2 separate regions of the Homo sapiens genome follow, and region 1 is linked to region 2. The links are contacts of gene promoters, found by promoter capture Hi-C in blood cells and fetal thymus (Javierre and others, 2016). All regions are on one chromosome and are shown on one strand. Each heading gives the region's core, a stretch centred on a gene start or on the middle of the fragment in contact. The rest is flanking DNA. Distances are from core to core; before and after follow the strand shown. Region 1 overlaps EMC3 (ER membrane protein complex subunit 3). Region 2 holds the start of RPUSD3 (RNA pseudouridine synthase D3).

Region 1 (5,799 bases), core at 20-2,519, 130 kb after region 2:
TAACATCTAGCAAATGAAGTCAAAATAGAAATACGCTTCCCTTTATCCTGCTCAACGAGAATACCGTATTAGTTTTGGAAGTAAGCTAGCAAGTCACTTGCTTGAATCTAATCTGGCTAAAAAGCATCCACGTCATGAACTTAGGATCATTTTTGGGCAAAAGCCGTAAAAGTCATCACATATTAAATTTTTTGTTCAAGGACTATTATCAGTTTACAAAAGAAAACACAGGACCTGTGATATTAGTGTCTCACTAGCACTTGAATTTCTCTGGGTAACATGAAGTCGGCTGGGTCTGTAACTTACTTGTGACAAAGCCTGAGAATGTCATGTTGATCCATCCACCAATAAGAATCATAGGGAGGACATTTGTTACATTCCCTTTCATCATGTCTGTCAACATAGTAGGATCTAAGACAAAAGCACAAACAAGAAACCACTAAGTTTTACCTCTGTTGCCAGGGACTTTCTCCTGATTTTCTGTAAACTGTTTTTTTTTGAGACGGAGTCCCGCTCTGTCGCCCAGGCTGGAGTGCAGTGGTGCGATCTCAGCTCACTGCAAGCTCCGCCTCCCAGGTTCACACCATTCTCCTGCCTCAGCCTCCCGAGTAGATGGGACTACAGGTGCCTGCCACCACGCCTGGCTAATTTTTTGTATTTTTAGTAGAGACGGGGTTTCACCGTGTCAGCCAGGATGGTCTTGATCTCCTGAACTCGTGATCCGCCTGCTTCGGCCTCCCAAAGTGCTGGGATTACAGGCGGGAGCCACCGCACCCAGCGTTTTTTTTTTTTTTTTTTTTTGAGATGGAGTCTCACTCTATCGCCCAGGCTGGAGTGCAGTGGCATGATCTCAGCTCACTGCAACCTCCGCCTCCCAGGTTCAAGTGATTCTCTTGCCTCAGCCTCCTAAGTAGCTGGGATTACAGGCACACACTACAATGCCCAGCTAATTTTTGTATTTTCAGTAGAGACGGGGTTTCACCATGTCGGCCAGGCTGGTCTTGAACTCGTGACTGACCTCAAGTGATCTGCCTGCCTCGGTCTCCCAAAGTGCTGGGATTACAGGCGTCAGCCACCGTACCCAGTCTCAATATTTTTAATGTCTGCATAGGATTCCATGGTGTGGTCACACCAATCACTTTTGAGTAGACCTATCGATTGTTTCCATTGTTTTTGCCAATAAACGATAAATGATGCTGCCGACAATTATCTTGCACATACATCTGCATGTTTATGTGTTTCCGTAAGAGAATTTCTTAGAATTTCTAGGTCCAAGGATTTGTACATTTAAAATTGATAGATATTGTCAGACTGTCAGCAAGGCCCCACCTCTTGCCACTCCCGCCAATGGTGAGGGAGCCTAACTTCCTCGACCTTGACAATAGTGGATCCTGACAATCTTTTCAATCTTTTGACAGCTTACTGGGCTAAAAAAAAAAAAAAGAGATATCTTGGCCAGGCACGGTGGCTCACACCTGTAATCCCAGCACTTTGGGAGGCCAAGGCGGGCGGATCACGAGGTCAGGAGATGGAGACCATCCTGGCTAACACAATGAAACCCCGTCTCTATTAAAAATACAAAAAATTAGCCGGGCATGGTGGCAGGTGCCTGTAATCTCAGCTACTCTGGAGGCTGAGGCAGGAGAATCGCGTGAACCCGGGAGGCGGAGCCTGCAGTGAGCCGAGATCGCACCACTGCACTCCAGCCTGGGTGAGAGAGCGAGACTCCTTTCTGAAGAAAAAAAAAAAAAAAAAAAAAGATATCTTGTTTTAATTGATATTCCATGGATTATTAGTGAGGTCAAGTAACTTTTCATATATTTAATGGTCTTTTGTTTCTTGTAAATTTTCTTAAAAATTTGTTAAAAAATTAACTCCATACAACCTTAGTCACTCTCAAAAAAAATTAATTATAATACCTTCCGTATGGGTTTAAAATAGCTGGTTATCTCACCTAAAGAAGTGAATAGTACTAAAATGAGAGGAGTCAACACAGAACAACAAATTACTTTGTTTTACTTTTAGTTATTTTTATTTTTATTTTTCGGAGATGGAGTCTTGCTCTGTCGCCCAGGCTGGAGTGCAGTGACGTGACCTCAGCTCACTGCAACCTCCACCTCCCAGGTTCAAGCAATTTCCTGCCTCAGCCTCCGGGGTAGCTGGGACTACAGGCACCCACCACCACGCTAGGCTAATTTTTGTATTTTTAGTAGAGACGGGGTTTCATCATGTAAACCAGGCTGGTTTGAACTCCTGACCTCAGGCAATCAATCCACCTGACTCAGCCTCCCAAAATGCAAGGATTATAGGCGTGAGCCACCACACCTGGCCTGTTTTACTTTTAACATGCTATATTTTTCACATGACTGGTATCAGTGGAAGTAGAAAATGTTAGAGCCAAAACTGTAGGGTAGACCAAACAATCACGTCTAACAACAAAGTCAACAAAATGGCACATCTTGGAAGTACTGCACTCTTCCTCATTTAGGCAGAAGCTGGGCAGCCATCTATTGGAAGGGGATCCAGGCACTGGGTGACAGCCAGGCTGGAATGCTTTACCAACTGTGCTCCCTAGAATCCTGGGTCCTGAGAACAGCAATAAGGAGAGACCCAGGGACAATAGCTCTGGCCTCCCCACTCCATCAGCTGAGAACTATTTTTTTTAATCCACTTTATACATTGGGGTTCTCAGAAAATCTAACTGAAAAAGAGAATTCCACTTCCATAGATCCCTGTATCAGATGATTTCTAAGGTCTAAGATTACTATCTTTTGCAATTTAACATTTAAATAAAATGACACCCTCCCTGCCTACCCCACCCCACTCAAATACCCATGTTAAAAATCTTCCTTAAAGATGAGTGAAGGGAACAAACATACCAGTCATAGGAGAAGGTGGCACTACCTTCCGTTTAGTTTTTTTGAAAAATCCATCCTCTGGGTTGTTGAAATAATATTTTCGTGTCAAGAAAGACTAGTAAAAAAAAAAAAAAGTGTTTTAAGTCTAAGAACTATGACACAGCAAACTGTTAAATTACTCCCCAGTGGCTTAGTCAGAAGGCCTTTAGGATATGCTGTTCCGCTCAGAGCTGTCAGCCTACTTGGCAGGCGACCTGACACTTTAGCTGAGTCACATTTAAAAACAATTTCCTAAGAAGGGTGAGGTCACCATGAGAGCAAACACCACCAGGCCACAGCTTAATTACTAAGTTGCCAACCTTTAGCTTTCCCCAGAGCCCCCTTATAAAACATTCAGATATCTACTGCCCAACAGTGAATCGTGGAGCTTTTTAATAAAAGATAAATGAGTACCTGTTTGGGAATGTATTTTCCATTTTCCCTGAGGACTCTGCTTCGAATTAGGACTTGACTGAAAAATACAACCAACACAATGAGATTTTAAAAAGTGAAACACTAGAAGAAAATGGGAGAGTCAAGTAGAAGACCTATTTAAACACAAGAGAGGGCCTATTTGGCAACAGCTCTGTGTGGAAACTTCCCAAAATACAAGTATCTTTAAAACCAACGTAAACTTATTTAACCTAACTACTAGGTTTTCAGAAAAGTATTTTTCAAAAGTGACTGTGTTTCTGAACACATAAATATTTCAGAGTTAGGTACATTTGGGACATTACACTCAGCTTTTTCTTATTTGATAATAAGCTAGGAAGACACTTTCTCTGAGTGAAAAGAATAGTTGAACACTGCTCAGGAGATCTGGGGTCAGGAGAAAGGGAGAAGAGTGAGGATAAAAGAAGGAATTTCTTATTACCTACAGAGAAATGAGAACAGGCCTTGAGAGGGTTGCTATCTGATGGACAAATAGAAAATCTACCCAGAAGTCAGACTGTTAGAAAGCTCTCAGTAAACATTTATTGAATAAATAAATGAAATTACTAGGTGATCTTAAATCAACTATTAGAGCCATAGTTGATCAATAAATATCATGCTAGGCCAGGTGCAGTGGCTCACGCCTCTAATCCCAGCAATTTGGAAGGCAAAGGCAGGTGGATCACTTAAGCCCAGGAGTCTGAGACTAGCCTGGGCAACATAGCAAGACCCTGTCTCTAAAAAAAAAAAAAAAAAAAAAAAAAAAAAAAAAAAAAAAAATTAGCCAGGCTGGTGGCACGTGCCTGTAGTCCCAGCTACTCAGGAGGCTGCAGTAGAAGGATCACCTGAGCCCAAGAGGCAGAGGTTGCAATGAGCTGAGATGGCGCCACTGCTCTCCAGCCTGGGCAACAGTTAAGACCCTGTCTCTAACAACAAAAAAAGAATACAGTGTTATGCAACAAATGGGTGTTGCTAAGATGCAAATGACAAAACAGAGATCAAAATATTAATTTTTTTCTAGGTACTCAAAAGTTCATTAAAGGAGGAAAAGAGGAAAAGGCCCTTAAAGTAATGGAAATAGTCTTGAAACGTGAAAAAAAATTATGAACAGAAATGAACATAGTAAAACCTGTGCTTGGTAGGGGCCAGGCGCAGTGGCTCACATCTGTAATCCCAGCACTTTGGGAGGCCGAGGTGGGCGGATCACGAGGTCAGGAGTTTGAGACCAGCCTTGCCAACATGATGAAACCCTGTCTCTACTAAAAATATAAAAATTAGCCGGGTGTGGTGGCCTGTGCCTGTAATCCCAGCTACTCAGGAGGCTGAGGTAGGAGAATCACTTGAACCAGGAAGGTAGGGGGTTGCAGTGAGCCGAGACGACGCCATTGCACTCCAGCCTGGGGTGGGACTCCATCTCAAAAAAACAACAACAACAAAAAACAAACAAACAAACAAAAAAACTGTGCTTGGCTTCCTGTCTCTACTCAATACAAACCACTTGTTTTAAACAGTCAGTACCCCGGGGTTTCCCCTGTCACACTACACATATTCTAGTTTCTCCACATGCTGGGAATGTTCCAGTGCCCTTTCCTTTCCGAGTTCTACTCCATCATGCCTTAACATCTTCAAGTCTCAGCATCTCCACGAAGCTTTTCCCAATGCCTGGAGCCCTCGTGGAATTCTCTCTGCTTCCTCCTCCTGAGCTCATTATGCTATACAGTTCTCTACTTTATCTACAGGGCGCAACATGTAATACATTCTGCTCCCTGGATGCTAGTCTAAAGATACTCAAAGTGTGGTGAATGCTAGTCTGTGATAAGCACAGACACTGAGAGTAAGGATTTAGAGACTTTTATAATAATTTGACATTGTCACAACATCCAGATACATGATCAAAATATTTTACAAAAGTATTAGCCTATAAGAGATTAGAAATTTAAAAAACAAAAAACCCCAAAACTGGTCCTTCACCATTGACAGTATAAGAAGCACTGGGTCTAGAGTAATGGGTAAAAACTTAAGCTCTGGAGTTGAACACATGGGTTCAATCCCACCTCTGCCACTTATTAGCCATGTGATCTTGAGCAAGTCACTTAAATTCCCTAAGTCTCTATTCATATTCTGTACAAGGGTAGATTTATTCTTTCATTGAACAAATATTTCTTGAACTTCTAAGTGCCAGGTGACATGAAGAACGGTGATCAAAATACAAATATCTTACGATGGTCAAAGTCTAGTGAGGGGGAAAGACATTAACCAAATAACCAGAGGAATAAATGTGAAATTCAATTATCATGTCCTAGAGAGAGATGGATGGTATTGCAAGAGTGCATAACCAGGAGGTGATGGAGTCTGGAAAGTCAAGGTCTGAGAGTTTGCTGAGGATGTAGGATTAAGCTGGACTCTTCAGGATGAGTGAGGATTACCTTGGCAAAGTGCTGGTGTAAACAAAATGGGCAAAAGCCTCGTA
Region 2 (5,596 bases), core at 1,196-3,695:
CTGGACTCAAGCAATCCTCCCACCTCGGCCTCCCAAAGTCCTATTGATTATAGGCATGAGCCACCACGCGGAAAGTTTTGTTGTTGTTTTTCCAGAGATGGGGTCTATTTTGCCCAGGCTGGTCTCGAACTCCTGGGCTCAAGTGATCCTCTTGCCTTGGCCTCCAGAAGTGTTGGGATTACAGGTGTGAGTCACTGTGCCCAGCGTCAGGGAGGTGTCATGCTTTGCCTGGTATCACACCATTTGTACTTGAGGATTTGAACCCAGAGCCATCGGCTTCCTCTTCTTCACAGTACTTGTATCCACCTCTATGATCTCAAACCTTCCCATGGAAAATGTCTCAGCTTATCCCCAAGCAGCTGTTTCCCCACCACAGATGGATGCCTGTACTCCTAGCTTCCTGTCACCCCTACCACTTACTTCCCAGATGCTCGGACAACCTGAAGCTCCTGCTCCCTGAGCCCTAGGGACTGGCTCAGCTCTGGCAGCACTGAGAACAACGTCAGCTCTCCTGGTTTTCCTGGAAAGTAAGAAAGAAAAATTACAAGAGGCCAAAGCTTCATGCCTTCACTTTTCCCTCCCTCAGTCACGAAACCCCCTTCCGCTGCATTCCCTTCCCACATCCCCGGCCCATACCTGTCACTGGTAGACCCTGTGGCTTGTTCAACGTCACTAGAGGTCCTGAAACATACATCACACGAACATCAGCAAAAGCAACGGTAACCCTTTATGCAGCACTAAAGAGTTTCCAGAGCACTTTCTCACGCATCTTAGCACATGTCCCCATCATGACTCTCAGACATGAGTTAACTACCCCACACCAAATTCAACTTCTTTCTGTTCCTCTGCCACCTCAGAGCCTCGGCACTTGCTGTTTCCTGTCCCCAAATTTCCCAGGTCTGGCTCCCTATCATCTTGGCTCAAATGTCACATCACGGAGAGGTCTGAATCTCCAATCTAATGTCTGCCTTCCTCCTGCAGTTCCTCACCATCATAACACCCTGTTTTAGTTTATGCATAGCACTTACCACTAGTAACTTGTTCATTTATTTTCTGACATCCATTTCTCCCGTTAGAGAGAAATCCATTTCTCCCCTGAGAGCAGAAACCATATCTATCTTTTTCAGCACTGTATAGCCTGCCTAGAACAGTGCCTGGAACATAGCATATGTTCAAGAAATAGTTGAGAAAAGGAATAAATCACTGAATAGAGAGTGGGGTTCAGAGAAATTCAGTTATTTTCCTAAAGCCGCACAGCAAGCTGATCACAGAGCCTAGGTATGTCTGACTCCAAAGCCTGTGTTTTGTCCGTCGATAAATAATCATTATTTATTTATTTATTTATTTAGACTGAGTCTTGCTCTGTCATCCCAGGCTGGAGCGCAGTAGCACGATGTCGGCTCACTGCAACCTCTGCTATCCGGGTTCAAGTGACTCTCCTGCCTCAGCCTCCCGAGTAGCTGGGATTACAGGCGGACGCCGCCACACCTGGCTAATTTTTGTGTTTTTAGTAGAGACGGGGTTTCACCATGTTGGCCAGGCTAGTCTCGAACTCCTGACCTCAGGTGATCCGCCCGCGTCAGCACCCTAAAGTGCCGGGATTACAGGCGTGAGCCACCGCGGCCAATAAACAATAATCTAGTATAGCAACTCCCGTAACTGAGCGCCGGCTATGTGCAAGGCTCGGTAGTTATTTGCATCTTCTCCCCACTCTTAACCCTACTGCATCATGGCAGTAGGGTTAAAAGCGGGGAGAGGGTGCAAATTAGGTGGCTTGTCCCAGCTCATGCTGCTAGTGGGAGGCAGAAGCAGGGCTGATCCCGTGGCTTCAATGGAGAGCCCAACTGCACGCCGAGGCAGTCCCCTCCCGGTCCTTGTGCGGCCGTGCCTCTCACCCCTCACCTTTCCGGTCCACCACGGCTGCCCGCAGCGCATCAACCAGCTCCTCCCGACTGAGGTTTTTTGGCAGCAGCCCCGCGAAGGGCTGGTCCCCGAGGGGCCCCGACCGTTGGCAGGAGCCGCGGGGTTGCCTCTGATGCCTGGACAAGGAGGGAGAAGCAATGGGAGTCATTCCATCCCGAGGTGCCACCCATTCCTATCTCCGGACGCCTCTTCCCAAATCCTGCGGCCTCTGACAAATGCCTCACAATGTCTGGGCTGACCTCGAAAATTCAGGTACGACCGGTCCCATTCTACAGCGGAGGGCACCGAGGCTCAGAGAGGCCAACGGGGCTGTTTTCGGGTAACATCTACCTGATCCAGATCCCGCACGTGCCTTCCCCCTGCCCTAGCCTCCGTCCCGCATGAGAGAGGGGGTACTTAATCACCGGGCTTCGGTGCCAAAGCCTGCGTCCTCGGGCACTGGGCGGACACCCAGGCCCCGCCGCCAGCCACTCCAGAACCGGCCCAAAACACGGCGGCCGTCCATCTCCCGAGCCAGGACAGCGCGCATGTGCGTCCAGAGGGGCAGACCCGCGCTCCAGCCAGCGCGCTGATTGGTCAGCTGGAGTGTCAATCGGAATGGTGACCGGGCGGGACTCAGAGCCTGAGGAGGCGGGGCTTTTCCTCCGCCCAGGAAGGAAATGCAGAAATGCCTTCCTATGCTTTTAGGGAGAGCGCTGTAGCAGAAGAATTTGATCTGATCAAAAAACCTGTCTTAGCAAAAAACCTGAAGCCGCCTTTGCAAAAATTATATTACAAAATTATGACAGCGAAAGAGATCTGATCTAACCAACCCGCAGCTTGCCTTTAACCTCTAAACGGTCCTTGGTCATTCCTGGGCTTGGGCCAAGCTAACTTTGGGAGAAATTAGTTCGTAGTCTAAATGATAATTGCCCTTCCCCCGAACTAAACTGGCTTCATAGAGTTAATGAAAGGCCACCAGGTTAGGAGTAGTAGAGGGACCTGAATTCTGCTAAGGGTTAGAGGTAACTGATTACCAGCGGTTATTCCGGAGGTCACAGTGTTTGCAGCTTCCCCAGCTCACGATTGTCCAACCTGAGATTGGCCTTTGGAGATGTCTTTCCAGGCTTTTGCATTTCTGACGGCCGGATCACCCCACCCGGACCCTCAACTCTTGGCTCTACTAGTCCTGTGGCCCCTCGAAGTCAGGAGATCGAGACCATCCTGGCTAACACGGTGAAACCACGTCTCCACCAAAAATACAAAAAAATTAGCCGGGCGTGGTGGCGGGCGCCTGTAGTCCCAGCTACTCGGGAGGCTGAGGCAGGAGAATGGCGTGAACCCGGGAGGCGGAGTTTGCAGTGAGCCGAGATCGTGCCACTGCACTCCAGCCTGGGCGACGAGCGAGACTCCGTCTCAAAAAAAAAAAAAAAAGAAAAAAGAAAAAGAAAGTAGAAGAACACAGAAAAAAAAGAATAATATAATGACTGCCCACATTCCTACCATCAGAATTAGTCATTGTGAAACAATATATATATGTATAGGTTTCCTGTTTTTCTTGTTTAAGAAATGAAAGGGATAAAAGTAAATTCCCCTTTACTGCGTGCTTCCAGTTTTCACTCCCTCCCCAGTCTCCACTTTGAGTTTGGTGTGAACATTTTCCTAATGTGTTTTGGTTTTTGTTTTTTGGAGACAGAGTCTCGCTCTGTCACCCAGGCTAGAGTGCAGTGGCCCGATCTCGACTCACTGCAACTTCCACCTCCCGGGTTCAAGCGATTCCCCTGCCTTTGCCTCCTGAGTAGCTGGAATTACAGGTGCGGTGCCCGCCACCACACCCGGCTAATTTTTTGTATTTTAGTGACGGGGTTTCACCATGTCGCCCAGGCTGGTCTCGAACTCCTGAGCTCAGGCAATCCGCCCGCCTTGGCCTCCCAAAGTGCTAGGATTACAGACGTGAGCCACTGTGCCCGGCCACTAATGTGTTTTTTTGCTTGCTCTGTCATCCAGGCTGGAGTGCAGTGGCACAATCACAGCTCACTGCAGCCTCAACCTCCCAGGCTCAAACGATCCTCCCACTTCAGTCTCCTGAATAGCTGGGACTACAGGTGTGCACCACCATACCTAGCTTTTTTTTTTTTTTTTTTTTTTTTTAAAGATATGGGGTCTCACGATGTTGCCCAGGCTGGTCTCAAACTCCTGGGCTCAAGATAAGAAAATAAAAATAACAAAATAATTTTTAAAAAATCAAACTCCTGGGTTTAAGGGATTCACCCACCTACTTCGGCCTCCCAGAGTGCTGGGATTAAAGGCCGCACGGGGCCTTTGACAGACACTTCTTTTTTTTTTTCCTTCGAGATGGAGTCTCACTCTGTCACCCGGGCTGGAGTTCAGTGGCACGATCTTGGCTCACTGCAACCTCTGCCTCCTGGGTTCAAGCAATTCTCCTGCCCCAGCCTCCCAAGTAGCTGATACTACAGGCATGCACCATCATACCTGCCTAATTTTTTGTATTTTTTAGTAGAGATGGGGTTTCACCATGTTGACCAGGCTGGTCTCAAACTCCCGACCTCAGGTGATCCACCTGCCTCAGCCTCCCAAAGTGTTGGGATTACAGGTGTGAGCCACCGTGCCCGGCCTTTGACGGACACTTTCTAATAGGCTTTTTCATCCAGCATTACACACCCCTATGAGGAAGGCAGGGTGGGTTGGGGCCCTGCCTTACAGATGAGGACACAGTGGCTGTTGTGGTTCTTTGTGTCCCTTAAAGGCATGCCAAAAGCTATGGGTGGGCTCAGAATGCCCCGGAAGGAAGTCAGATAACTGAAAAGAACACTTGCACTGGTCACAGGAAAACCAGCCTGAGCTGCCGGCAGCCTCTGGGAGGTGTTGGGATGGCCTGCCCCTGGTTTCCATGCGGGTCCTGACCCAGAGAGCAGGCCCCAGGGGAGTGGGGGTCAGCAGAGGCAGGATGGGGCCCGGTCTGCTTGTGAGGGAGTGCTGGGAGGGTGGAGTCTCACTCTTGAGGCACAGAGCTCAGCCAGCGGAAGAGGGGATGCAGGGATCAAGCCCCAGGCCCTGGGGCCTGAGGTGTGAGAGCTGTCTTTGATGGTTGAAGCCAGCCTTCCCAGGCCAGGCCAGGCCAGGCTGCTCTCTCTCCCCGAGGATGCATTTCTTGCTCTGTTATCAGCCCTGAGCTCTGAGAGAAGGGACTTTCTTTTTTTTTTTTTGAGACAGAGTCTTGCTCTGTTGCCCAGGCTGGAGTACAATGGCGTGATCTCGGCTCGCTACAACCTCTGCCTTCTGGGTTGAAGCGATTCTCTAGCTGCAGCCTCCCAAGTAACAGAGATTACAGGCGCCTGCCACCACACCCTGCTAAGTTTTGTATTTTCAGTAGAGAAAGGGGTTCACCATGTTGACCAAGCTGGTCTTGAACTCCTGGCCTCAAGTTATCCACCCGACTCGGCCTCCTAAAGTGCTGGGATTACTGTCATGAGCCACTGAACCTGGCCAGGAGGGACTTTCTTAAGAAGGTCACAAGAGGACTCAGCACCTGCCAACTCCCAAGTAGAGCCTGGGCAGGGGTGGGAGGTGTCCCCGGGGACCCCAGTGCACGAGAGCCCTGTGCCTGCACGGCCCTCCACCAGGAGGCCAGGCCTCAGAGGCAGGCCAGCATTGGAGCCACTTACCACATGAA

What was found. Contacts are between HindIII fragments. The CHiCAGO score rates a contact against its expected background, and 5 or more counts as called.
Region 1: a contact is called between a fragment that was not itself captured here and the fragment with the promoter of RPUSD3 in region 2, in 4 of 17 cell types (activated CD4 T cells, monocytes, neutrophils and 1 more). The highest score is 6.4, in activated CD4 T cells.

Annotation. Positions count from the first base shown.
Region 1 is chr3:9,974,078-9,979,876 of GRCh38, forward strand. It overlaps EMC3 (ER membrane protein complex subunit 3), which reads right to left. Exons shown (of 8, transcript NM_001394674.1): 2 at 3,312-3,369; 3 at 2,880-2,973; 4 at 307-411. Among named protein-coding and RNA genes, the nearest start is that of EMC3, 9.9 kb to the right of the region's middle. RefSeq lists an enhancer at 2,352-3,551. The HindIII fragment of the contact is 7,414 bases long and covers 1-4,976 here.
Region 2 is chr3:9,841,563-9,847,158 of GRCh38, forward strand. RPUSD3 (RNA pseudouridine synthase D3) reads right to left here and starts at 2,446. Exons shown (of 9, transcript NM_173659.5): 1 at 2,328-2,446; 2 at 1,903-2,039; 3 at 637-681; 4 at 421-520. The coding sequence starts at 2,428. RefSeq lists an enhancer at 2,309-2,388. The HindIII fragment of the contact is 7,859 bases long and covers 556-5,596 here.